6 separate regions of the Homo sapiens genome follow, and regions 1, 3, 4, 5 and 6 are each linked to region 2. Evidence: promoter capture Hi-C in 16 types of primary human blood cells and fetal thymus (Javierre and others, 2016). All regions are on one chromosome and are shown on one strand. The core of a region is centred on a gene start or on the middle of the fragment in contact, and the rest is flanking DNA. Distances in the headings are between cores, read along the strand shown. Region 1 overlaps MTRF1 (mitochondrial translation release factor 1). Region 2 holds the start of VWA8 (von Willebrand factor A domain containing 8). Region 3 holds the start of KBTBD7 (kelch repeat and BTB domain containing 7). Region 4 overlaps NAA16 (N-alpha-acetyltransferase 16, NatA auxiliary subunit). Region 5 has its middle 72 kb from the start of NAA16. Region 6 has its middle 48 kb from the start of RGCC.

Region 1 (4,561 bases), core at 684-3,183, 700 kb after region 2:
TTTTGAAAAGTGATTGCACAATTGAGAGTGAAAATTACTGAGTCCTGAACAGGCAACTTACATTCTAATACCAGCTCTGTCTCCATCCAGCCGACTGAATAGTCGTGATTAAGTTACTTGACTTCCTTGGATATCTAGATCCTTAAAGTTAAAGAATTATACAAGATAATAATATTTTCTTCAAACTTTAGAAAATGACTTTATGAACCGCCTTAAGTTTGTATGTTTTCATAGCTTTCAAGAGCTTGTTTACACACTCAATTCTAGATTCTAGATACTTTCTAGAAAATAACTGACTTAACTCATTCAATTGATATATTTGTTAGTTGTACTCCTACTCATATGCTTCAGTTAATTATATATGTTGAACAGGTAGGAAGCAGTGCTGTTTTTATTTATTTTAATATGTTATTCATACATTTGAAGAATTATGTTCTTTCTGTAGGCAGCTGAATTTTTTTTTTTTTTGAGACGAAGTCTTGGTATTGTCCCCCTTGCTGGAGTGCAATGGCATGATCTCGGCTCACTGCAACCTCTGCCTCCTGGGTTCAGGCAATTCTCCTGCCTCAGACTCCTGAGTAGCTGGGATTACAGGCGCCTGCCACCACGCCCGGATAATTTTTGTATTTTTAGTAGAGACAGTGTTTCACTATGTTGGCTGGGCTGGTCTCGAACTCCTGCCCTCAGGTGATCCGCCTGCCTCAGCCTCCCAAAGTGCTGGGATTACTGGCGTGAGCCACTGCTGCCAGCCGGCAGTTGAATTTTAAGACTGTGGAGCTGGCTGAGGCAGTAGATGAAACAAGATTTCTTGATGTTCCTTCCAGGTTTATTATGCATGTATCTTTAGAGATGATTTTTTTTTAAAGACTGTGTTTATTGTATTTCAGATGCTGAGATGAATCGTCACCTGTGTGTTTGGCTTTTTAGACATCCATCTCTTAATGGTTACCTCCAGTGTCACATCCAGCTCCATTCTCATCAATTTAGACAGATACATCTTGATACAAGGCTGCAAGTTTTTAGACAAAACAGGAATTGCATTCTTCATCTGTTAAGTAAGAATTGGTCCAGGAGATATTGCCATCAAGACACCAAGATGCTCTGGAAGCATAAAGCACTACAGAAATATATGGAGAACCTGAGTAAGGAGTACCAAACACTTGAGCAATGTCTGCAGCATATCCCTGTGAATGAGGAAAACCGAAGGTCCTTGAACAGAAGGCATGCTGAGTTGGCACCTCTTGCAGCCATTTACCAAGAAATTCAGGAGACTGAACAAGCAATTGAAGAATTAGAATCAATGTGTAAAAGTAGGTAAAAGATACTTATGTGTCCTGCATAAGGGCTATGAAAAAAAAAACCACACACTTATATGCGTGTGTGTAAGTACAGATTTGATTTTCTAAGTTAAAGCTTTATTGAACTTAGTCTTTGTTTTTTTTTTCCCACAGAAGCAGGTTCTCACTTGTTGCCCAGGCAGGAGTGCAGTGACTCAATCGTAGCTCACTGTAACCTGTAAGTCCTGGCCCCCCACTTCAGCATCCTGAGTAGCTAGGACTATTGTGCCAGGGCTTTCCAAAGCGATATGATTATAGCCACCGAGCCACTGAGGCTGGCCTGAACTCAGTCTTTTAAAAAAACCTACAAGTAATAAGCTCAACACTTGGAAAGAACAGGACTCTGTACCCAGAGTATTTGACACACTTTAGCTACTAAAGATCAATGTACTAAGTAAACAGGCTCCTCGTGGTACTTCCCGTGGTCTCAAGGTCTGGGAGACAAAATGTTGGTCTTTTCAGAAGCTTTATTTTATTGAGCAGACCTTTATTGAACACTGTACCTACATACTAGGGCTACACATACAGTTCCTACCCCATCAGTGGGCTTCTATGGTCCAGTGAGAGAAACTTATTTAAGTATTGTTTATAATGTGAGACCTGCTCTACTAGAGGGAGGCACAGTTTCATGGGAGCAAAGAGGAGAGGGCACTCAAACCAGCCTGGATTGATTGGGTAAATCTTCCTGGAGGGGACTGCGCATTAGTGGAACCAGGAAGGAAGCTTTTATTTTTTATTTTTATGTTTTTTTTTTTTTTTTTTTTGAGACGGAGTCTCGCTCTGTCGCCCAGGCTGGAGTGCAGTGGCGGGATCTCGGCTCACTGCAAGCTCCGCCTCCCGGGTTCACGCCATTCTCCTGCCTCAGCCTCCCAAGTAGCTGGGACTACAGGCCCCTGCCACCATGCCCAGCTAATTTTTTTTGTATTTCAGTAGAGACGGGGTTTCACCATGTTGGCCAGGCTGGTCTCAAACTCCTGATCTCAAGTGATCCACCCACCTTGGCCTCCCAATGTGCTGGGATTACAGGCATGAGCCACCATGCCCAGCCAGTACTTTATTTCTTTTCATTACTGAATTATATTCCATTGTATGGATATACCACATTTTATTTATCCATTCATCAGTTGATGAACATTGAGTTGTTTCCACTTTTTGGTTATTATAAATAACGATACTGTGAACTTTTGTGTACAAGTTGTTTTGTGGACATAGATTGCTGGTTCATGTGGTAACTCTATGTTTAACCTTTTGAGGAAGTGCTAGACTGTTTTCCAAAGTGACTATAACGATTTTACAGCTCTACACACAGTGTATGAGGGTTCATATTTCTCCACGTACTTGCCAACACTTATTATCCGCCCTTTCAATTATTGCCATCCTATGAATGTGAAGTGGTGTGTTATTGTGGTTTTGATTTGCATTTTCCTGAAGATTAATGATGTTGAGCATCTTTTCTGGTGCTTATTTGGCCATTTGTGTATCATCTTGGGAGAAATCACTGTTCAGATCCTTTGCCAGTTTTTAAATTTAATTGTCTTTTCATTATTGAGTTGTGAGTGGTCTTTATCTTCTAGGTAAAAGTCCATGATCAGATATATGATTTGCAAAAATTTCCCATTCTGTGGTTTTCTCTTCACTTTTTTGATACTGTCTTTTGAAGCATGATATTTTTAAATTTTGATGATGTCCAATTTATCTTTTTTTCTCTTGTTGCTTGAGTTTTGGGAGTCGTATCTAAGAAAATTGCCTAATCTAAGGGCACAAAGGTTTACATCTGTGTTTTCTTACAAGACTGACGTATTTTTTATTTTTATCCCATGCATTTAGGTCTTTGATCTATTTTAGTTATTTTTGTATATGGTGTATTTATTTTTTATGTTTTTTTTTTTTGTTTTTTTTTTTAAGAGATGGTCCCTCACTCAAACTCCGGGGCTCAAACAATCCTCCTGCCTCAGCCTTCTGAGTAGCTGGGACTACCGGCTATTTTTTATCTTAGTTTTTTATTTTAGTATTTCTCAATACTGCTATTGCCTCTACATTTTTTCTCTTATGAAAATTTTCGAAAATTTTTATACAGAAGTTGAGAGAAAAGTTTAATGAACTAACCTATGATTCAACATTTATCCAGATTTGGCTATTAACTTTTAGTTTCTAGATTTTCTTCTGTGCTTCATTTTGTTTCATTTAGCCTTAGCAGTATTATGTGATACACAGGCCAGTCACTGTTATACCTGTAAAGTCCTGGATTTTTGAAGCCTTCCATTTTTCTGCCTTCTATTGATGGTACCACAAGTCTCTTACGTACGTTTAATGGAGATATTTTTTACTCTTTTGCATAATGCCACACAGATTTGTAGTTAATTAGTTTTGAGAAGGTTGCTTGTGTATAGTAGAAGTTTATGAAATGCATTCTAATTAAATTGGCATAACTTCTTTCAGCCTTGGTTGTATCATGTATAATATTAGATTGGATTACATCATTTCTAAAGGCTCTACTACCTCTACAATTTTTCTATAATAATAGTAATAATAGCTACATTTACAAAGTCCTCTTATGTGCTAGGCACTAAGCTCAGTGCTTTACAAATATTATCTCATTTGAATGCTCAGGTAACCTTATGAGGTAGGATATATGATTATTCCCCCTCCCCCTTTTTGTTTCTTTTAAGAGACAGAGTCTTGCTCTGTGGCCCAGGCTGGAATGCAGTAGTGTAATCATAGCTCACTTTAACCTTGAACTCCTGGACTCAAGCAATCCTCCAACCTCAGCCTCCCAAGTAGCTGGGACTACAGGTGTGTGCAACCATTCCCAGCTATTTTTTTTATTTTTAGTAAAGATGAGGTCTCACTGTGTTGCCCAGCCTGTGTTTTCCCTCATTTTATACATTTTATAGATGAGGACATTGAAAGGTTAAATTTGCAAAGATCACTCAGCCAGCGAGGGGAGAAGCAAGGATTTGAACCCAAGCAATGAGATTCCAAAGCCTCTGCTCTTATCCACTGCTTGATGGATGATTCAAAGTCCAGCAGGGTCTACCTTTGTGATGTAGCTTGCATGAGTCCTGTTCTATTCCTTCCACTAATTTATATCTTCATTACATCTCTGACTTAGCTGATTGCAATCAATTCCTAACTTGTAGCCCTACCTCTAGGCGTTCTAGTTCAAGTACAATCTTATTCATGTTACTCACCTGTTCCCATTGTCTATAAGTAGAGATTTCTTG
Region 2 (4,504 bases), core at 1,838-4,337:
CTGCAACCTCTGCTTCCCGGGTTCAAGCGATTCTCCTGCCCCTGCCTCCCGAGTAGCTGGGATTACAGGCACCCACCATCACGCCTGGCTAATTTTTGTATTTTTAGTAGAGATGGGGTATTGCCATGTTGGCCAGGCTGGTCTCAACTCCTGACCTCAGGTGATCCACCCATCTCAGCCTCCCAAAGTGCTGGGATTATAGGTTTGAGCCACTGTGCCCGGCTGGTAGCTTGTTTTTTAATAAGCATGTGATCAGATATTTTAGTGAGAGTTTGAGAGACTTTACACAGATTGTGATGAACATCTTTTAAAACAAAACACCTTTGGTTCTTCTTTAAAAACATTGTGAAGGTCCATTCTTTCCCATTCAGTCTCATTGCCATCAGCACTGTTCATCATTTCAAGTAGAGACTATTTTTACTGCCACGTAGCTAGCACTTGATGCTTCCTGTCTTCCTAATTCAATTCATAGTATGTCACCACCTAAAACACGATCAAAAAGTCCAGTAGCTGCCCAGTTTGCTCATCGGATGAAGTCCAACTTCATCCAGCTACTCAAGATTCTTCACTCTGTAACCTTCTCCTCCTGCTCTGCCAACACCTTCTACTACTTTCGAAAGATTAACCTCCTCATCTGGCTGGTCTCATGGCCCCTGTAACTGAACTCTGTCAGGACTCCAAGCCTCTACTTAGGCTCTATACCCCGCTTCTCTGTGTATCCAGTCCTAAATGGCATTCAAAGTTAAGCTCAGGTGCTGCCTTTTCTCAGGCTCAAAGTTTTCCTCCCCATTGTAGCTTTGTCACTCTAAAAAACCTTCACCATTTTTCCATTTCCTGGAGGTTAATGTGCAAACTCCTTCTCTTGGCATACAACATGGCCCCAGATTCTCTTTCTGGTCTTATTCTTACAAACTGTTGTATATACTTGACCTCTAGACACACTGAATCACTCTCTGGTTCTCAATCATGCCCTGCACTTTCAGCTGTTTCTTTCTCTCTCTCTCTGTACATGATCTGTCTGCCAGATTTGACTTGTCTCAGCCTGACAAACTCTTGTATAATATATCCTACATGAATCATTTCAAACACTACCTTCTCTGTGAAGACTCCAGGTGCAGCAATCCACTCCACAGTATGTTGAACCTAAATCTCTTGACACGTGTCTCACTGTATTGCAATTCTTTATTTGCATATTTATCATCAATACCTAATGTGAGCCCATTGATTCACAGTATCTAGCAGGGTACTGTTTATACAGCAGTTACTCAATAAATGTTGTCGTTGGGAGGCTGAGGCAGGAGGATCACTTGAGGCCAGGAGCTTGAGACCAGCCTGGGCAACATAACAAGACTCCACTGCTACGAAAACAAAAACACAAAAATTAGCCAGGCACAGTGGTGCACGCCTGTAGTCTCAGCTACTAGGGAGGCTGAAGCAGGAGGATCACTCGAGCCCAGGAGTTCGAGGTTGCAATGAGCTATAATACTGCCGCTGCACCCCAGCCTGGGCAACAGAGTGAGACTTTGTCTCTAAAAAAAATAAAACTAGGCAAAAAATGTTGTTGAATGCTCTAACTTGTGTTGATCTCTCCATTGTCTTAACTCCAAGAGCTCTTAGTGCTTATATCAACCACTTTGCAAAATTGCCTTAGGTTGTTCTCCCATTCTTTCAGGTGTCTACTGAGTTCCAGCGAGATTAAATGGAGATATCTTGACCAAGGTATTCAATTCTTCTAGCCTCAGTTTCTTCATCTGTAAAACGGAGGATAATAATAGTACCTCAAAGCATTTTTATGTGAAATGGGATAATTCATTAAAATCTTGATACATACAATGTGCTCAAAGTAGGAAAAGCATTTTATAAGCTTACATCCTAAATTTATGTCTTAGGGTTGCTATGAGGATTAAATGAGAAGATACACATGAAACGAAGTCATAATATATTGTGTAACTACTTATTACCTTTATTTTCACTGTCTCCTCATCTAGGTTAGAAGCCTGGTTCAGCCTTCATTCCTCAAGTTCTTCCGCTGGATGCCCAAAGCCTTCCTTACCTAGCCTTGTTTGACTTTTACAGTCTCCACTCTAACACTCTCTTCTCAGCACTCATCACAGGGTCAGGCGCAGGGTAGGTGCTATGTATTTAGACAGTGGCAGCTCTAGAATTAGCAAGGTCTTTAGCTGAAAGTGAGGTCTTCTGCCTTCTTTTTGATGTTTGCTTGTATAACTTGTCTCAAATATTTTGCCTTAGTCAATTCACTGTGACATTTTGGGGATGCAGTCTAATTACATTAGGCTTAGTTTGCTTTGTGGTAGGACCATTTCCGATGTTGGAATGTACAAGAGGGAGGCAGCCTTAGCCAGTGTCCTACTTTTTCCTTTACTAAAGACATAAATCATCTTTATATAACTTTTGTATTACAGCATGACTAGAAAAGTGCTTGATCTGGATCCTTTCTGATATTTAAGCAATTTCCATCTATCACTAAGATGTGAATTTTTTCCTTAGAATTTAGGAAGCGGTAATAAAACACAGAAACAAACAACCACCACCAAAAGGACAAAGGGTAAAGCTTTCACGTACGGTTTGGAAACACTAGTGTGGTTACAATGAATCAAGACAGTTGTGAAAGTTCCCATCATCTTGTGCATGTTTTCTCCATTTCCGAAATCTGAAGCCGAATACAGGGAAAGCTCCCTATACTTACTGGGCCTTTAACTAAGAAACGAAGACTTGGGGCAAGCATCTGAAGAGTCACACCGACAAATGCTCCTAAAACCCTTGGCATTTACTGAACTCCTGAGATTCTGTGGGATCGCAGGGAAACGGCGGGTGAAGGCCTGGTGCATCCAGGTGAACAGACAGTCTCACGGACTGCGAGGCGCTTGCCAGAGCCCAGCGCCGCAGCTCGGAGCACCCCCGCGGTGCGGGCAGTCCCGGGACGGTGCCGGCTCTTTGGGCTGGAGCTCCGCAGGCTCTTTCCGCCCGTCTGGGCCATGCAGGGCCGGGTAGGGCCGGGCTGAGTCTACTGAGCCGGCCGCGCCGCGGGGGAAGGAGTTTCCGGCGGACTCGGCTAGGTGCCGCTTCCTGTCCCCTTCTCCGCGCTGCCTCACGGTGCCTGCACGGGACGCCGCTCGATCCCCGAGCCCCCTCGCCGTCCCCGACAGCCCCCCCGGCGCCATGCAATCCCGGCTTCTACTCCTCGGGGCACCCGGAGGCCACGGCGGCCCGGCCTCGCGGCGCATGCGGCTGCTCCTGCGGCAGGTGGTGCAGCGCAGGCCGGGTGGCGACAGGCAGCGGCCGGAGGTCAGACTGTTGCACGCCGGCTCGGGGGCCGACACAGGTAACTCGGGGTGCGCCCCTGTCCTCCCTGGTGCCCCTGCGCTCCGTGCCGGGTCCCCGCGCGCCCCCGCCCCTCCTCTCTGTTGCTTCGCTGCGCTTGGAAGGACCGTTTGCCGAGCGGGGAGCTGAAAGATTGAGGTTCTAGTCCCGACCTCGGCGCTAACTGCTGTGTAACGTGGGGGCAAGGCGCTCGCCCTCTCTGTGCCTGATTCTGCAACCCGAGGGGTCTGGACTAAGGTTTCTGATGACCTAGAAGAGTGATTTCTCCTTCCCCTGCCGCTGCCTTTACCCCCAGAATTCTGACTTAGGTTATAATACTCGTAGAGGTTAATGCCTCAGCCCTATGGAATTATTGAAAGCTGGATTTGACCTTGCTCTCTGAGCCTCAAGGGCCTGGAAGCCGGTCTGTGTCATGTTCTAGCCAGGGCTTGTGGCGGCTTAGAAGGGAACATTCTTGCCAAAGAACCCATAGTTCACGGTGTTTTAAATGCATCCCCGAGCCTTTCCAAGTTTTACAGGAGTTTTCCTTAAAGTTTCACGTAATTCTTAGAGCTGACAGTTACACCTTAATTTAGTTAAAACACTTGCCTCTACAAATGAGGTAATTGAAACCCAGAAGGGAAAAGTGATTCGCTGGAGAACACACAACTAATTACTATGCTAGAATCACATGCTTTGATTTCTAAGCTCAGTATTTTTTGGCTCTACTTGAGCTGGTTTTAGGAATTCTTTTTCTTGTGTGTTGGTGGAGTTAGAGTTACTGTGATGGTTAAGGAAAGGATATCTGTTGTTGCTACCCTTGAATGGTGAAGTGATTCCAGACAAGATTTTGTCAATGTCAGTGCTGCTTGGAATAACAGGTTTTCACTATGAAATTGTAGGTTTCGTTGTCCTCTTGCATTTTCCCCGCAACCCCCAGTTTTCCTTGCTAAGAAATGAGCATATGGGCCGGGCGCGGTGGCTCACGCCTGTAATCCCAGCACTTTGGGAGGCTGAGGCGGGCGGATCACGGGGTCAGGAGATCGAGACCATCCTGGCTAACACGGTGAAACCCCCGTGTCTACTAAAAAGAAAATACAGAAAAATTAGCCGGGCGTGGTGGCGGGCGCCAGTAATCCCAGCTACTCCGGAGGCTGAGGCAGAAGAATGGCGTGAACCCGGG
Region 3 (4,301 bases), core at 890-3,389, 770 kb after region 2:
TGGTAAATTTAGTGTTATGTATATTTTACCAATATTTTAAGAAGTTTTTTAAAATGGCCATTCCTGCGCTGGGCATGTGGCTCATGCCTGTAATTGCAGCAACTCAGAGGCTCAGGCAGGAAGAGTGCTTGACACCAAGATTTCCAGACCAGGCTGGCAACACAGTGAGACCCTGTCTATAATTTTTTTTTAATTAACTGGGTGTGGTGGTATGCATCTATAGCTCTAGTTACTTGGGAGGCTGAGGGCAAAGTATTGCTTGAGCACTGGAGTTTGAGGCAGCAGTGAGCTATTATGGTGCCACTGCACTCCAACCTGGGTGACAGGGCAAGACCCCATCTCAAAAAAAAAAAAAAAAAAGAAAAAAAAAAGGCTTTTTTCCCCAGCTGGTATTCACTGCAAGTCAGGAAACAATCATTGTTACTGATAATGACTGACTTGATTCTCTCTGGTGTATCTGAGGGATATCTAACATCTCTTTTTATTTACAGAGGAGTTATTAGAGCCCAGAGGCTGACTTAATTTAATGTGTCTACCCTAGAGTATTTCCAGTGGACTTCAGCTGATAAGTTGAAGTTATCTTCAGCTGATAAGAGAAAAACAATTTGAAAGTTATTCTCTTGTAATGTGTTATCCATACATGCATGTAACACTGATGATTTTCTTTATTAGGTTATGGTAACATAACAAACTAGCAGCAGGAGCAGTCATGGTTTTGTAATAAAAGTTATCTGAAAAAGTCTGTTACTGGTGGAGGGTGTCCAGGTTCTTGGCGTTTTGGACAAAAAATTGGACAAAACACATAAACAAAGCAAGGAAACAATGAAACAACAAAAGCAGAGATTTACTGAAAATGAAAGTACACTCCACAGTGGGGAGCGGGCCTGAGCATAGGGGCTCAAGGGCCCTGTTACAGAATTTCTGAAGGTTTAAATACCCTCTAGAGGATTCCACTGGTTACTTGGTGTACACCCTATGTAAATGAAGAGAATGAAGTAAAGTTACAAACTCATTTACTCAGCATACACCCTATGGAGAGGATCTTTCCTGTTATAGCTAAAGTGTGAATCAGCCTTATGTTCCCTGCCTCCAGACCCTATTTTCCTGCCTCAAATCTCTAATACTTGATTTTGATGATTTAACTGTTGATCCCAATGCAAATATAAAAGACTTTGTAAAGCATAGACTATACTATATATTAATTCAAGGAATGTCAGGGCATGTACTGATGTTGAATTCTGAGAATCATGTGCTTTTGTACAGAACAAAGTCTGTTTGTTGAAATATTTTGAGTTAAAATACTCCCTAAAACTCCTTAATAAAGGGAATTACATAATCTGTTAATTGATTTGTGGAACGGCAGTGAAAGAGGCTGTATTAGACGACTTGAAAACACTCATATTTGGAGCTTAACGAAAATACTCCTGCTCTCCAGAGATGAAATGTTAGTGAGAGCAGCAAATAATTTATTTTTATATGCTGGATTTGCGTATTTGAGACCATCTATTAATACTGTTCTTTAGGACCTCAACCTAGTCGTCTAAGACATCCTTATTAAACGAGACCAATAGATATCATTTAATATTGAAAATATTGTTAATGCCCTTCAAAATCTTTCGAAGGAATAAACATTAAAAACTAGAAATTCTTTGTAAAATTTTGCGGTTTAAAATAATACTCGGTTTCAAATTAGTGGGTGCCTCATTTATCATAAATTATAAAAGAGAATCTAACAGTTATTGGCTACATTCTAGGCACGGGGTAACGCTTTACTATTCTTCTAACCAAAAACATACATGTATCTAAGTATCCCATGTAAGGTATCATTGAACCACACAAAACCCTATGAAATACTGGCAGGGGGCGGTGGCTCACGCCTGTAATCCCAGCACATTGAGAGGCCGAGGCAGGAGGATAATTTGAGCCCTCAGGAGTTCAAGACCAGCCTGGGCAACAGTCTCTTCACCATCAAATCCAGGAGAATTAATTTCTACTGTTAGAGCAGTCAACTAAAGGACAGCTCGCGATATTACACAAACTACTACTCCCAACATGCAAAGCGGTTTCTTTCCCTCTGTCCCCGCCCGGCCGTCCGAGAGCCCCAGCAGGCCTCGGGGCGCGAAAGGCAACCTGGGAGCAGTAGTTCTCCCGGGCGCCTAGCGGGATCGCCAGCGCGGCAGTGGGGGCTTCCGCGGCTGCAAGCCAGCGGGTCCTGTGAGGGCGAGCGGAGGCGGAGAAAGGGCGCGGGAGTGAGAGAGGGTGAGTCAGCCACTGTCTATGCAATAAAGGGAGGCCTCACCGCGGGATAGGGCTGAATTCAGAAGTGCGGCCCGTGCCGCAGTCTGTTCCAGGACGCGGCTTGTCTTAGCGTCAGCGAGGGAAGGTTGAGGAGGAGCCAGAGCCTGGTCCTGCAGCCTTTCTCGCCGTCAGCGCCCGTCGCCATCTCCACCATGCAGTCCCGGGAAGACGTCCCGCGCTCTCGCCGCCTCGCCAGTCCCCGTGGTGGGAGGCGGCCCAAGAGGATTTCCAAGCCCTCGGTTTCGGCCTTTTTCACGGGTCCAGAGGAGTTAAAGGACACGGCCCATTCTGCAGCCCTGCTGGCACAGCTCAAGTCCTTCTACGACGCGCGGCTGCTGTGTGATGTGACCATCGAGGTGGTGACGCCTGGCAGCGGGCCTGGCACGGGTCGCCTCTTTTCCTGCAATCGCAACGTGCTAGCAGCTGCGTGTCCCTACTTCAAGAGCATGTTCACAGGTGGCATGTACGAGAGCCAGCAGGCCAGCGTGACCATGCACGATGTGGACGCCGAGTCCTTCGAGGTGTTGGTCGACTACTGCTACACGGGTCGTGTGTCTCTCAGTGAGGCCAATGTGCAGCGCCTGTACGCGGCCTCCGACATGCTACAGCTGGAATATGTGCGGGAAGCCTGTGCCTCCTTCTTAGCCCGACGTCTTGACCTGACCAACTGCACCGCCATCCTCAAGTTTGCAGACGCCTTCGACCATCACAAGCTTCGATCTCAGGCCCAGTCCTACATAGCTCACAACTTCAAGCAGCTCAGCCGAATGGGTTCAATTCGGGAGGAGACTCTAGCAGATCTAACCCTGGCCCAGCTGCTGGCTGTCCTACGCCTGGATAGTCTGGACATAGAGAGTGAGCGGACTGTATGCCATGTAGCTGTGCAGTGGCTGGAGGCTGCTGCCAAAGAGCGGGGTCCCAGTGCTGCAGAAGTCTTCAAGTGCGTGCGCTGGATGCACTTCACTGAAGAAGATCAGGACTACTTAGAAGGGCTGCTGACCAAGCCCATCGTGAAGAAGTACTGCCTGGACGTTATTGAAGGGGCCCTGCAGATGCGCTATGGTGACCTGTTGTACAAGTCTCTGGTGCCAGTGCCAAACAGCAGCAGCAGCAGTAGCAGCAGCAACTCTCTTGTATCTGCAGCAGAAAATCCACCCCAGAGACTGGGTATGTGTGCCAAGGAGATGGTGATCTTCTTTGGACATCCTAGAGATCCCTTTCTCTGCTATGACCCTTACTCGGGGGACATTTACACAATGCCATCCCCTTTGACCAGCTTTGCTCACACTAAGACTGTCACCTCCTCAGCTGTCTGTGTGTCCCCAGACCATGACATCTATCTAGCTGCTCAGCCCAGGAAAGACCTCTGGGTGTATAAACCAGCTCAGAATAGTTGGCAGCAACTTGCAGATCGCTTGCTGTGTCGTGAGGGCATGGATGTGGCATATCTCAATGGCTACATCTACATTTTGGGGGGACGAGACCCTATTACTGGAGTTAAGTTGAAGGAAGTGGAATGCTACAGTGTTCAGAGAAACCAGTGGGCATTGGTGGCTCCTGTCCCTCATTCCTTCTATTCCTTTGAACTCATAGTGGTTCAGAACTATCTTTATGCTGTCAACAGTAAGCGCATGCTTTGCTATGATCCTAGCCACAATATGTGGCTGAACTGTGCTTCTCTTAAACGTAGTGACTTTCAGGAAGCATGTGTCTTCAATGATGAAATCTATTGTATCTGTGACATCCCAGTCATGAAGGTCTACAACCCAGCTAGGGGAGAATGGAGGCGGATTAGTAATATTCCTTTGGATTCAGAGACCCACAACTACCAGATTGTCAATCATGACCAAAAGTTGCTTCTCATCACTTCTACAACCCCACAATGGAAAAAGAACCGAGTGACAGTGTATGAGTATGATACTAGGGAAGATCAGTGGATTAATATAGGTACCATGTTAGGCCTTTTGCAGTTTGACTCTGGCTTTATTTGCCTTTGTGCTCGT
Region 4 (4,469 bases), core at 1,730-4,229, 600 kb after region 2:
AAAAACTGTACAGATATTCTCACTGATATTCTTATTTTTAATAAAGTAGGAACTAGAAATTTTAAGATTATATATTTTTTCCTAAGGAGCTCAAAGCTATTTTCAGTTACAATTTTTTAAAAAAGAAAGAAAAAAACTAGTCCACAGACATTTCTATGTTTCCTAAACTCGTCTTTTTAAAATTTTTGTAGCGACAGGGGTCATGCTATGTTGCCCAGACTGGTCTTGAACTCCTGGCCTCAAATGATCTGCCTGCCTTGGCCTCCCAAAATGCTGTGATTACAGGCGTGAACCACCATACCCAGTTCTTAAATTGGTCTTTCTGAAGACAAAAATAAAAAAAATTCTAAGTTGTTCCATTAAAGTAATTTAGAACCATCAGCTACAGAATATCATCCCACTTTTTTTAACTCTCTCTGCAACATTTTTGTTTTTTGGCATATGAGTTATCTAATGTTTGTCTTCAACTCCAACAGACAATATATTAATATTTTTCTAGGTATTGTTTACGCTAATGGCATTCTGAAATTTAGTGTCCTTTTAAAATCTTTTAAGTTCCTATTCAGTTACCTGAGTTTATTTCTTGTTGTTTGCTTTCATTGGTTAAGGGATTATCATACAATTTCAAGTATATTTCAATCGCTGATCTAGCAGCCTTGAAATAAAAGGCATGTCTTCTGAGTATATCTTCTAATCTCAAAAGGTCAACATAGGCACGAAGGGTCATCTTTCTCATGCAGTATGTATGGAAGTCGAATTGGTCATCAGTTATCTCAAAAAAATGCTTAAAAACAAAAATCACAAAATTAACCTTTACATTTATGTCAATAATGTCTACCTTTAGAAAAAAAAAATTGTAAAAAGCCCAAAAAACAATTTAAACAGTCACAATTTTCACTTAGCTGCCCTCTCCAATGTTTTACACTATAAAGGATATGAATTATTTTTGGCATTCAACTTGAACTTTCTCTTCCTACAAACCATGCCCATTCCCTACAAATCATGTTTTGTGATGATACTCAACTTCTATATAAGTCAAAAGATCAGGTTATTTTTTAAACCTGAAAGTTAGTATATATTAATATTTTAGTTTTAATGAAATACTCTTCCTCCATATTCCCTAAAAACCAGCATGGCACAGTTAAACAGAGCTCTGAATGAAGACTAAATATGTGTAGGTTCACACTAAATATTTACAAATCTGACTGCTCTACTCAACTCTACCATTTTCAAGGGCAATCCTTACCCACCGCCTGCCACAGGGCCTAATACATAGCAGACATTCAGTAAGCACAGTATTTGCCCACTCAAGAGATAAGCTTCTTATTAGGGATGCGACCCTGAATAAGCCTTTTAATTTCCTAGACAATTATTTAATCTAAGTTAAGAATAAAGAAATCCATACAGCCAATTTCTTAAGGTTGTTAAAGGATCAAATAATGTATTTTAAAGTTCATTTTCAACAGTAAACTGTTATATAAATACAGAACTTTATTGTTTTCTCTTACTCTACCTACATTCCATTTTAGCAGAAGTTCTGAAACTGGAGTCTATGTATAAACAAGCATAAAAACTTCTTCCTAAGGAGAGAGCTCAAAGCTTTCATCCAATTTTCAATGGATCCATGGCCAAAAGAGGTTAAGAACTAATCCCTTCCATGAAAGGTGAACACTAACCCTCTGCCCCTCCCCCAACAAAACAATCTTATACTTATACTGTTCCCCTGCATGCATTTCCATCTCCAACTTCTTTTTTCATACGTTAGTTTTTCTAAAATCATATAGAAAAATGAGTGATTCAATACACCAATATAGATCAAGCTTTCCTACTAGTTCATGTTCCCTCTGTCCTGGGGATAGTTAAGTCACTCCGCAGAGGACATATTAGTAATTGTCCATAATCATCTGATAATTGCTTGGTAATTAGAAACACACTATATACAGAATTATATTAAGTACCTGAGACTTTAAGACAAAAATTATAATAAAAGTACATAGTATGGAGGGTAAGAAACAGGAAAAGTGAACATTTCACATTAGTTTATGACTAAAAAGCCATGCTTTAATGATGTTGTAATTGAAAACTGCATCTTTCCCACCAATAAAATCAAATCGTAAATATTAACATGAACTTTTTTTTTAAATCAAAGGATTACATATTTCATAAAGTTGTTAGTGGTTTCTCTTAATGTAAATCAAGTTATAACTAGCACAAGAATATTTTAAAAATTCAATACAGTTAACTAAGGAAAAATGGTGGCGCTAAAAGTCCTGGAACACATAATCAGATGAAAACATCTAAGAGATTACAGGACATTCTTTTAGGTTGAGAAACATCTGAAAAAAGGCAGATGACAAACTTCAAGAGATATTCCTAGCAGCATTAATAGACAGAGATTTTAAGTCAAGTCTTGGAGGGGGCCATATGTAACCACAAATATTTAAGCCACCTCTTTATCAGTAACAGCCCATAGGCTGCCTCTCTCCAGTTAATGTCTTCCATAAATTGGGTGACCAACTTATCCTAGTTTGCCAGAGGCTCTCTCAGTTTTTCCACTGAAAGCACTGTGTCTTGCGAACCCACTCAGCCTCAAGCAAACCTGGCTTGTTAATCACTCCATAATAAACTAATGGTGATAGACAGAATATGGCTAAATTAAAAACAAGTGGGATACTGCAGCTACAGCTGATTGTAATATTTGCTTTTGGAAAAAACAGTGTATTGCAGAATACTATATAGAAACAACTAAATAATCTCGGGTTGAATTTTTTTTTAACTTTTTGTTTTGGGTTATAGATACAGAGGAAGTAGCAAAGGTCCTGTATACCCTTCCCTCAGTTTCCCCCGAAGGTTACAGCCTACATAACTACAATACAGTATCAAAACCAAGAAACTGACATTGGTACAATGTGTATATAGTTCTATGTGATTTATCATTTGTAGATTCATGTAACCACTACCCTAAGAAACACAGAACTACTCCATCACCAAGAAGCTCCCCCTTGGGTTGATTTTTTAGTCTCTAAATTTGTAAAACACAAAAATATGCTACACAACACCAACAGATAAAGTTAGTTTCCCTGTACCTTTTGGCCAAACATGAAGAGCATGACAAAAATCACTTAGCTCACTGCAGAAAAGTACGTATTCAAATCTTAACATACAGCTCATGCCCTTAACTCTCTCCCCCTAAGCAAGAATTAAGAAAAGCCGTTCACAGCTTTAGAGTGTAGTGTTTTTATTTTTTTAAGGAACTCCTTATTAGGCCCTCTCTTCTAGACCAGATTCTCCTTCCCACTACCTCTCAGAGTTCCCGGATGTGACTAGTAAGAGCTTATACAGAGAAAGGCAACAAAAACCTCTGGATTTAAAAAATAATAACTAGGTCAACTAGGAAAATTAGCAACTCAATTTACTTAATAGAGAATCTGTTGTTATAAAGCATGTTATCAATTTGATAAAGATTAAGATACAATAGAAGATAAAGTTATGATCTTCCTATAGTTTGTATCTATCAGAAGTCCTAGGTCTTATCAAAGAGTTAGAAATATATGTATCGTTGCCCTGTTTCATATCTAAGTCAGTATTCTAAAATAATGATAATCCAATCACCAGCAGTCTAATAGTAAAAGAAAAAAATGGAAAGAAAGAAAACTCAATTCTTGAAAGATAAAATAGATTAAAATGTTATTCTGAACACAAGTTTAAATCTAATATTTTGAAGAAGGTTGTTCTGTTTGTTTTAATAAAAGTCAAGTTTCAAACATCAGATTGGGTTGGACTACAAAACCTTAAAATATAAACCCTAAAATCTTATGGGGGGGGGATGAAAACAGAAAAGATACTACACTAGCTTATTCTAGAATTCTAATTTTTCAAATCCAATTACTAAGAGCTCAAAGCAGTATGTATCCTGACTGAAACTGCCTTCAACAAAAGAACTCTTGAATGACTTCTTCAAAGCAGAATAAAGACCTAACCCTTATTTGAACTTATTTCGCAATTCACTAACCTTCTATTTAGAAGGTAAACTGCAAAGTTTTATTTCTGAGAGGTGTCCGTGTCCTTATTAAAATATTTAAGACACAGGCATAAGGTAACTCATGTAGATACCTATTATAATAAATCTGAAGCTTGTAATTACTCCTAAATCCTTCCAATGATATCATTAAGAATTTTAGATTAGAAAATTTAGATATTAAAAATTAAGAAGCATTAATCATTCCATCAACCTAGTCACCCTATTTATACGAAACACATTTCTACATATAACCACACATGTAGAATATACATAATAACTATAAAAGAGTTGTCTTATTTGCTTTTAGTATAGATATATTCACTGAAGACTAGCTTACAACTGGTATAAGAGTAGGTTCTTTTCTTGTTTATGTTTCTACTTCTTTCTAATCTCAAATGTTAATAGTAAACCCTAAAGTTTCTAGCGATAATAATTATGTAACATGACC
Region 5 (4,528 bases), core at 115-2,614, 580 kb after region 2:
GTCTGACACAGTCTTTGACTCTCAGAGCCTTCTGGTTTGTGGGCCCAGAATCATGGGATGCTGTTACCTAGATAACCCTCCTCACGCTACAGGCGAGGAATAAGGGGCCAGGGAGGGTGTGACTTGCCTGCGACCAGTCCCCATTCTTTCCGCTCTTGTATCAGGGCCCTCTCCCACACAAAACTGCACTCAGACACATTGGCCAGGTCATGGGCTTTACACATAGCAAAGGCTGTATCTGGGATTTTTAACCTCTGCAGAAGGCAATGATCAGGATGTATTGGATCAGAAATCTATATATTATACAAGGAGGAAATACAGACACTTCCAACACACAGCAACAATCTCATTTCCCTGAGACAATTAAAACAACAACTCTGGTCAACATACGGTCCTTCTTTTCATTCTCAAGGAATCAGAAAAGTAAAATTTGAGTTGGAAAGCTTGCCCTCCAGTGGAGAAATAATGAACTAACCACGCACTTCAAAGTTTCAGAAAAACAATTACCATATGCTAACCAAGTGTTAACTGGAAAATAAAAAAAGTATAAATAAAAGCCTAGGAAAGAATATGAGTACCTGCTGTGAGCTTAGCCTGGACCCTGCCTTTAGAGAACCTCTTTTTGAGAACATGATGGCTGCCTGTGACCCCCGCCACGGCCGATACCTCACCGTGGCTGCTGTCTTCCATGGTCGGATATCCATGAAGGAGGTCGATGAGCAGATGCTTAACGTGCAGAACAAGAACAGCAGCTACTTTGTGGAATGGATCCCCAACAACGTCAAGACAGCTGTCTGTGACATCCCACCTCGTGGCCTCAAGATGGCAGTCACCTTCATTGGCAATAGCTCGGCCATCCAGGAGCTCTTCAAGCGCATCTTGGAGCAGTTCACTGCCATGTTCGGCAGGAAGGCCTTCCTCCACTGGTACACAGGCGAGGGCATGGACTAGATGGAGTTCACCGAGGCTGAGAGCAACGTGAACGACCTCGTCTCTGAGTATCAGAGTACCAGGATGCCACCGCAGAAGAGGAGGAGGATTTTGTTGAGGAGGCCGAAGACGAGGCCTATGACAGAGCCCCCATCACCTCAGGCTTTTCAGTTCCCTTAGCCATCTTACTCAACTGCCCCTTTCCTCTCCCTCAGAATTTGTGTTTGCTGCCTCTATCTTGTTTTTTGTTTTTTCTTCTGGGGAGGTCTAGAACAGTGCCTGGCACATAGTAGGCACTCAATAAATACTTGTTTGTTGAATGTCTCCTCTCTCTTTCCACTCTGGGAAACCTAGGTTTCTGCCATTCTGGGTGACCCTGTATTTCCTTCTGGTGCCCATTCCTTCCATCTGTCCAGTTAATATTTCTCTCTTAAAAATCTCCAAGAAGCTGGGTCTCATCCAGATGCCATTTAGAACCAACCAGGTGCTGAAAACCCATGTAGATAATGGCCACCATCCTAAGCCCAAAGTAGAAGATGGTAGAAGGCAGTGGGTAGAAGTCACTATATAAGGAAGGGGATGGGATTTTCCATTCTAAAAGTTTTGGAGAGGGAAATCCAGGCTATTAAAGTCACTAATTTCTAAGTATGTCCATTTCCCATCTCAGCTTCAAGAGAGGTGTCAGCAGTATTATCTCCACTTTCAATCTCCCTCTAAGCTCTACTCTTTGGAGGTGTCTGTCCCACTCTGTCAAGTGGAATCCTTTCCTTTCCAACTCTACCTCCCTCACTCGAGCTCCTTTCCCCTGATCAGAGAAAGGGATCAAGGAGTGGGGGAAAGAGTCCAGCCTTGGTCCCTAAGCCTCCAGAAATGTCCTCTTAATCCCCACTTTTTCTTACCCCCTAAAAAGAAGGAACATCCCTGACTGTGGAATGGTGTATACTGCCACATCAGTGTTTGAGTCAATCCTCAGAGGAGAGGGGAACCCTCCTCCATCTTTTTCACAACATCTCATTTCTTCCTTTTGCTGTTGCTTCCCCCCCCCCACACACTTGGTTTTGTTCTATCCTACATTTGAGATTTCTATTTTGTGTTGAACTTGCTGCTTTTTTTCATACTGAAAAGATGACATCGCCCCAAGAGCCAAAAATAAATGGGAATTGAAAAAAAAAAAAAAGAGAACCTCTTGTCGAGGAAACAAGACTTTAAACACACACAAGGCCAGGAAAATGAGTAAGACACGGCATGATTACTGAGCATCTGACAGAGAGGAAGGAACACTCAATTCAAAATTAGAAGGAGTGGGTTTGGATCCTGCTTTGTACTAAGAAACTGTGGCCCTGAGAGAAGCTTACATCCTATCAGCTGACTGTCATGGAAAATGGGGATGATAATATGACCTCTTTCACAGGGCAGTGGTGAAGGCAAATCAGAGATCAGAGAAAATACTTAGTGACTGTGAGTGTTCATCAATGACATTTATGAATATTTATTTTGCGCTGAGCTCTGTGATTTATACTCAAGACAGACATGGTTGGAGACCTTACAGAACTTACAATCAAGCTAAATAAGTGGTCATCACAGGGCACCCAAATAGCAGGCAACTGCTAGCCCACATATGTCCTTGCAAGATTTGAAAACAAACTGCAAAACGATGCCCTTTCTGAACATGCTTAAAATGCTCATGGAAAGAAACCAGTAGAGAGGCAGAGACAAATGGTACAGGATGTGATCAAGCCAAGTAAGTACCCTAAGACCTGAGGGAAAGAAATTCAGAACACAGGGAAAATTACCCTTTTGGGGAAGAAAAATGTGACAAGATGAAAGGAGGAAAAAATTCTGCAATCAGAAATAAGTTTATAGATTTAGTACAGGGAAGATTAAGAATTTGTATCTGATGGCTTCTATTTTTTGTTTAAATGGGAAGTGAGGTTATAATTTCCTTATCAATTACCCAGTCTGTGGTATTCCATTACAGCAACAGAAAACAGACTAAAACAGATGGAGATGAAAAGTATTGATACCAGGGAGATCAAGAAACTGAGAGGCCAGAGTGTTGAGTGGGTGCACCAAATAGATGCTGAAACCACCTGGAATTTCAGCACGATTGGAGAGAAGGGAAAGTCTGTGAGTCAGAGAAGTGTATAAATGACAGCAACAAAGAGATGTCAAGAGTACAGCCCAATAGCATTATCCTCAAAGGAGCATGGATTTGTTTGTACAATGTTGGAAGAGTGATGGGCTAGAAATGGTGGAGAGTGAAATGCTCTGAATGCTCTTTCCAGGGAGATGGTGAGAGAATAAACAGTCTCCACTTGAAAGGGCTGCATAATGGATAGAGATCCGTTACGATTTTCAGTTAAAATTAAAAGATAAGCGGAAATGGTGAAGGCAGAGAAAGAAGATGTATGGAACTGTGAAAACGTAGATTTAGTACAAGGAAGATTAAGAATTTGCATCTGGCAAAGCCATGCAGTTGAATATTTTTAGAGGGTAAATTGCAAAGAACACAAGGAAAGAGTATAGAGAGGGGCTGACCTAAGGAAGAGAAAACAACAGATGGGGATGAGAGGATGGGAGAGGAAAGAGAACCAGAGAGCGCTTACGCCTTGAGTGGAACTCAGAGATGGTCACAGGTCTGCCAGAAGTATGAGTCCCTACAGATCCCTGGTGGATTAGGAGTAGGGGGTGGAGGATAAGGGATAGGGGAGTAGTCCTGAATAAGCTACAGGGTAGGTTGATCATATGGCCGTAGGTTCACAGGCTCCCAGAGGCTGGGATTGAGCCGAAGCCAATATATGATCCCGTTCAGGGGCTATGAAGCCACTTTAGCTACTTTAAGATAAAGAACTTTCACTTATCACAATGGCTATCCTAAAGATGTAAAGTCACAAAGTGCTGCTAAAATATTAACAGACACCTGTGTTCTAGAACTAACATCTACACATTCTGGGAAAGAAGAAAGGGCTAGTCGGCTTTTCCTACCATCAGGGATTAAAGTAATTTTCTTTAACAAGCTGTTAACCAAATCTATTAATGAGACTATCCTCAATAGAAAAACTCAGATCTCATGACTATCCTCTCAGAGAACAGGAGCCAGGAGGCACTGAAATCCGTTGTAATTCTTATACTAAGCTTCTTAGTTACTTAAATTTACTGTCCAAATGTTTTCATTCTACTGCCTATTAAGGAACTTAAAAAGACACACTGCAGGCCGGGCGTGGTGGCTCATGCCTGTAAGCCCAGCACTTTGGGAGGCCCAGGAGGGAGGATCATGAGGTCAGGAGATCGAGACCATCCTGGCTAACACGGTGAAACCCCATCTCTGCTAAAAAATACAAAAAAATTAGCCAGGCGTGGTGGTGGGTGCCTGTAGTCCCAGCTACTCGGGAGGCTGAGGCAGGAGAATGGCGTGAACCTTGGAGGTGGAGCTTGCAGTGAGCTGAGATCGTGCCACTGCACTCCAGCCTGGGCGACAGAGCAAGACTCCATCACAGAAAAAAAAGACACACTGCGATAGTAGATATGGAAACAACCCAAGTGTGCATCAACAGATAAATGAAGAATATGTGGCATATATATCAATGGAATATCAGCC
Region 6 (4,497 bases), core at 711-3,210, 550 kb after region 2:
AATAAAAGCACTTTATTATTATTTTTTTTAGATGGAGTCTCACTCTATCGCACCCAGGCTGAAGTGCAGTGGTGTGATCTCGGCTCACTGCAACCTCTGCCTCCGGGGTTCAAGCGATTCTTCTGCCTCAGCCTCCCAAGTAGCTGGGACTACAGGCATGTGCCACCATGCCCAGCTAATTTTTTTGTATTTTTAGTAGAGATGGGGTTTCACCATGTTCACCAGACTTGTCTCAAACTCCTGACCTCAGGTAACTCAGGTATCTCAAACTCCTGACCTCGGCTTCCCAAAGTGCTGGGATTATAGGCGTGAGCCACCACGCCCAGCCTAAGAAAAGCACTTTAATGTGATTTTAAGCCAAAACAACCACAGCACTTCTTGAACAGCCTCAAAACAGGAGTTTCCCCACAGCTGGGTTTTACAATTCTCTGCTGCCACCATCTGGGAATCAAAAAGACAAGTGGTGTCCTCAGGATCCACTCCCCGGGCCCAAGGTCTACCCTGCCCTCTCTGCTCTGTCCAGCAATGCTGCCCCCACCCCACCACACCACACCCACAGCCTGCAACCCATTCAAAGACCATTGAACTCACTTGGTTACCGGTGATGAATTTCTGAGTGGTTCAGCCACACCCATAATCAATGGGAAGAAGGAGAATAGGACTTAAACCTTTTTAGTCCTAATGTGACAGAGGAAAAAAAAAAGTATTTCAAATGTTAGAAATAAGCTAGCACTCCCTTTGCAACCCAAACCAGTTTGGCAAATTGTGATCTGTGTCACTGGTGTTTTTGTACCCTGGTGCCTGCCACTTGGTAAGTATTTAATTTACATTTGTTGAACGGATGAATGAGTGAATGATCACCACACACATTTCTCTAATTAGCAACAGTAAAGGTGCAGTTGGTTCCTAGTAAGAGCACTCTGAACTAAGGGTCAGAAGACCTGGACTCTGATATTTGCCCGGCCCATAAACTAGCTGTGTGCCAGGATGGGCAACCTTTCTGAGCCTCGGCTTCCTCACGTATAAAATTAGAAAACAACCTGGTGACTTTAGCTTTGGGGAACATTTAAATAAGAGCCACATGCAAAAATCCTTTATTAACTATCAGTGTGTCACAAATGTACAATATCAACGTTTACAAATGTATTTACAAATGTATTCACAAATAAAAATAACTATACAATATGCCTTTTTACATCGTCTTCCAAAAACACAAATCTGTCTCATACATTTAGGGCTGTGTTGTTCATGAGTTAAGGAAGAGCAAATTTATGCCACCCCTAGTAAACCAAGACACGGATGCAGAGAGGTTAATTGAGTCTCTGAAGATCACCCAGGGAATCATTTTTTGGGCAAATTTGACTCTGTCTCTCCCTTCTGAAGTTACACATTCCTCTTTCTCTCCACATTTCCAGTAGCATTTCTCTGTACTAATGTCTCTGACACTCCTAAATGTGGAGATAGACTTTGTAAGACTAAGTGGAAAGCAAATGCGAATTTCTTCCTCGCACCAATGAGGATGGTTCATTTGTGTGCTTGGTTATTTTATAAATGGTGTTAATTAAACTTTCTCAGATAAAGACCACCTAGCTCCAATGCATAGTCCAACACTATTAGAATACAATAAAGCTAACAGACTGTCAGGCCTCTGAGCCCAAGCTAAACCATCATATCCCCAGTGACCTGCAAGTATACATGCACATGACCTGAAGCAACTGAAGACCCACAAAAGAAGTGAAAATAGCCTTAACTGATGACATTCCACCATTGTGATTTGTTTCTGCCCCACCCTAACTGATCAGTGTACTTTGTAATCTCCCCCACCCATCTCCACTACCCTTAAGAAGGTTCTTTGTGATTCTCTCCACCCTTGAGAATGTACTTTGTGAGATCCACCCCCTGCCCCCAAAACATTGCTCTTAACTCCACCGCCTATTCCAAAACCTGTAAGAACTAATGAGAATCCCACCACCCTTTGCTGACTCTCTTTTTGGACTCAGCCTGACTACACCCAGGTGAAATAAGCAGCCATGTTGCTCACACAAAGCCTGTTTGGTGGTCTCTTCACACGGACATGTGAGACACAGACTATTAATGCAAGAGATTATTTTCACCACTGTCAGGAAAAAAAAAATTATATACAGAAATCTGAAATTCTTCAGAATGGGCCAAATTCTCACCTGGCCCTTATTTGTCCTCGTCTGCTCCCACCTCCACACTGCCCATCTGCTCTACCCACAGCTTATTTTAGATGAACATCTGCTTTGGTTTGGAGTTGAGGCTGGGAATGGAGCAGTAAATCATGACTTTGTAAGGACCAGGCAGTGGAGTCTCCATCTTCTACTATCCCACAGCCCTGTTTTGTACATTCCAGTGTGATTACTTTACTCTTCCCTGTGTTCTAACACAGGTGCTCATGGGGTAGAAATGATTAAATGAACACACACATAAACTAGGCTGACACACTGCCAGCATCGTGTGAGTGGGGAGAAGTAGAAGAATGCAATATTCCTTGCTAGGTAGCATCTTTTTCCAGATTCTTCTGGTAGAGAAAACTTCAAGATGATCACACTAATTACAATGAAATATGAATAGCGTAATGATCATGTTTTCAATAAGAAACAGACCAGCTACAGGGGGTCCCAGGGCTGTGGAAGCAGCACTCCTCATGACCCCATCCTGTCACGCTTAGAGTGGGGGAGAGGAACCCACTCATTCTACAGCTAGCCTCATGGCTTCCTGAATGAGCTGTTTATCCTCTTGATTTGCTCTTCAGAAAGATGACTTTTTGAGAAGGAAACATAGTTAACTTACTAACTTCTTAAACGTTTAGAGTTTGGGTAACTTTGCATGAAAAAGAAACAATGAAATATTAAGCTCTATGTTGTCAAGGTAGTAGAAAATCTTAGCATTCAATAAAATCTACCATAAGTAAAGTTGAATATGGTAACTTATGTTAAATGCAGGGGGGAGGTCCGTGTGAGTACAGAACCTTTAAGCTCTCATTAAATGTGGCCCAACATCAGCAGCTGTTCTTTGGATCATCCCTAATACATGTGAGCATCACTAGCACCAGGAATTTGTTCTCTAATTTCACTAAAAGGAAAAAAGACTCCTTGGAGAGTAGCAGCTGATTGAATGTCTTAGAGAAGGAAAAAAGATTATTTTGAAACTGGAATATCCTATTGTTTCCAGAAAGCAAAGATGTTTTTTGAAAATGTCTGGAGTACAGCAACTTGGGGTAGGCTCCATCTGCCATGTAATGACAATTTAAGTATCATCATCTTTATATGCAGTGGAAATCAGTGATTCTCAAACCTGAGAGAGTGTCAGAATCCCCTGGAGGGGTTAAAACATACACATGGCTGGGTCCACTACCGGTTTCTGATTCTGTGGGTCTGGAGTGGGGCCCAGGAATCTGCATTTCTAACATGTTCCCAGGTGAAGCTGCAGCTGCTGATCCAGGGTCCACATTTTGAGAACTGGTATCCTAATGGAATTGAATGAGTATAAAGTATCCTAATTGAACTGAATGAGTTTGTGAGCACCTGTAAGTTCATTATGATACTCAAAAGAGAAGAGTCTATATAAAAGTTACAGAAAGGTAGTTATAAAAACATTATTACATATGTTAATATATTTGGAGGTTTGTGTCTCCTCTTAAGTACATGTTGGCTTATAAAGCATAGTTCTTCTGGAATCTGTGTAAGCAATAAGTGAACACACACACACACATATAAATCCACAAGTTAATGAAACAATTCCAGGAAAAGCAGAAACTGTACCAAAAACAGAGAAATCTAATCAGCACCAGCTGTACACTCATAACAAGGTAGAAAGGGATCCAGTTGTCAATCAACACATATTGCATAATAACCAATCAAAATCTTTGTATTCCAAAATGATTAACCAGCCAAATGGCCCAAAGAAGAGAGTTAACTTGGTTCCTCTTCTCCTGGAAAAGAAAACCTCCAAATGATTCATTGTAATGAGATACTCATAAGGCAGTAATGTGTTTTCAATTAAAACATCAAACAAGGTGAATATATCATAATGGCAGAACAATGAGTTTGTCAAAGTCAGCCATTTGAAACCTAAACCAATATAATTTCTGAGAAATATACCAAATTTCAACAAACCAAAATCTGTGAGAAAGTCGACTTAAAATTCCCATTGATTAAATTTTAAATTTTAAATAAAAGTCCCATTGATTAAATTTTAAGGTGCAACTTACGTGTAAAAGGCACTTGGCTAATGACTCAGGTTTTGCCTTACACTGGACTATGAAATCAAATTGAGGTCTCAACCAAGAACCTCACAGATCTTGAAACTGCAGAAGATCTAATTTTTGTTTTGTTTTATTTTTACCTTTATAATCTGATAAGATTATTGCAACTTTAGGGGGAAAAACAGAAATAAAATTGGATCAAATTGCTGTAATTTCAAATATGTAACTGAGAAGGCATAAGGATAAGAATAAGAACAGAGTAAGAATAA

What was found. Contacts are between HindIII fragments. The CHiCAGO score rates a contact against its expected background, and 5 or more counts as called.
Region 1: a contact is called between a fragment that was not itself captured here and the fragment with the promoter of VWA8 in region 2, in 6 of 17 cell types (total B cells, total CD4 T cells, naive B cells and 3 more). The highest score is 13.9, in total B cells.
Region 3: a contact is called between the fragment with the promoter of KBTBD7 here and the fragment with the promoter of VWA8 in region 2, in 7 of 17 cell types (non-activated CD4 T cells, total CD4 T cells, monocytes and 4 more). The highest score is 11.4, in non-activated CD4 T cells.
Region 4: a fragment that was not itself captured here is called in contact with the fragment with the promoter of VWA8 in region 2 in 3 of 17 cell types (megakaryocytes, M1 macrophages and erythroblasts); the score reaches 5.9 in megakaryocytes.
Region 5: a fragment that was not itself captured here is called in contact with the fragment with the promoter of VWA8 in region 2 in 3 of 17 cell types (M1 macrophages, M0 macrophages and M2 macrophages); the score reaches 9.8 in M1 macrophages.
Region 6: a fragment that was not itself captured here is called in contact with the fragment with the promoter of VWA8 in region 2 in 1 of 17 cell types (M0 macrophages); the score reaches 5.8 in M0 macrophages.

What each region holds. Positions count from the first base shown.
Region 1 is chr13:41,257,242-41,261,802 of GRCh38, reverse strand. It overlaps MTRF1 (mitochondrial translation release factor 1), which reads left to right. Exons shown (of 10, transcript NM_004294.4): 2 at 888-1,310. The coding sequence starts at 896. Among named protein-coding and RNA genes, the nearest start is that of MTRF1, 4.1 kb to the left of the region's middle. The HindIII fragment of the contact is 258 bases long and covers 1,805-2,062 here.
Region 2 is chr13:41,959,692-41,964,195 of GRCh38, reverse strand. VWA8 (von Willebrand factor A domain containing 8) reads left to right here and starts at 3,087. Exons shown (of 45, transcript NM_015058.2): 1 at 3,087-3,343. The coding sequence starts at 3,181. VWA8-AS1 (VWA8 antisense RNA 1) reads right to left here and starts at 3,027. Exons shown (of 4, transcript NR_039974.1): 1 at 1,962-3,027. RefSeq lists a silencer at 3,008-3,417 and enhancers at 3,618-3,757, 3,853-4,353, 4,354-4,504. The HindIII fragment of the contact is 5,183 bases long and covers 2,575-4,504 here.
Region 3 is chr13:41,192,407-41,196,707 of GRCh38, reverse strand. It overlaps KBTBD7 (kelch repeat and BTB domain containing 7), which reads left to right and starts at 2,139. Exons shown (of 1, transcript NM_032138.7): 1 at 2,139-4,301. The coding sequence starts at 2,451. All of the region lies in intron 3 of KBTBD6-DT (KBTBD6 divergent transcript), which reads right to left. RefSeq lists enhancers at 1,969-2,058, 2,369-2,638, 1,983-2,689, 2,690-3,397. The HindIII fragment of the contact is 3,616 bases long and covers 1-3,013 here.
Region 4 is chr13:41,363,754-41,368,222 of GRCh38, reverse strand. NAA16 (N-alpha-acetyltransferase 16, NatA auxiliary subunit) reads right to left here. Exons shown (of 20, transcript NM_024561.5): 14 at 571-784. Among named protein-coding and RNA genes, the nearest start is that of NAA16, 55 kb to the right of the region's middle. The HindIII fragment of the contact is 2,313 bases long and covers 1,823-4,135 here.
Region 5 is chr13:41,381,253-41,385,780 of GRCh38, reverse strand. It overlaps the pseudogene TUBBP2. Among named protein-coding and RNA genes, the nearest start is that of NAA16, 72 kb to the right of the region's middle. The HindIII fragment of the contact is 1,837 bases long and covers 446-2,282 here.
Region 6 is chr13:41,407,700-41,412,196 of GRCh38, reverse strand. No RefSeq gene overlaps it. Among named protein-coding and RNA genes, the nearest start is that of RGCC, 48 kb to the left of the region's middle. The HindIII fragment of the contact is 7,503 bases long and covers 1-4,497 here.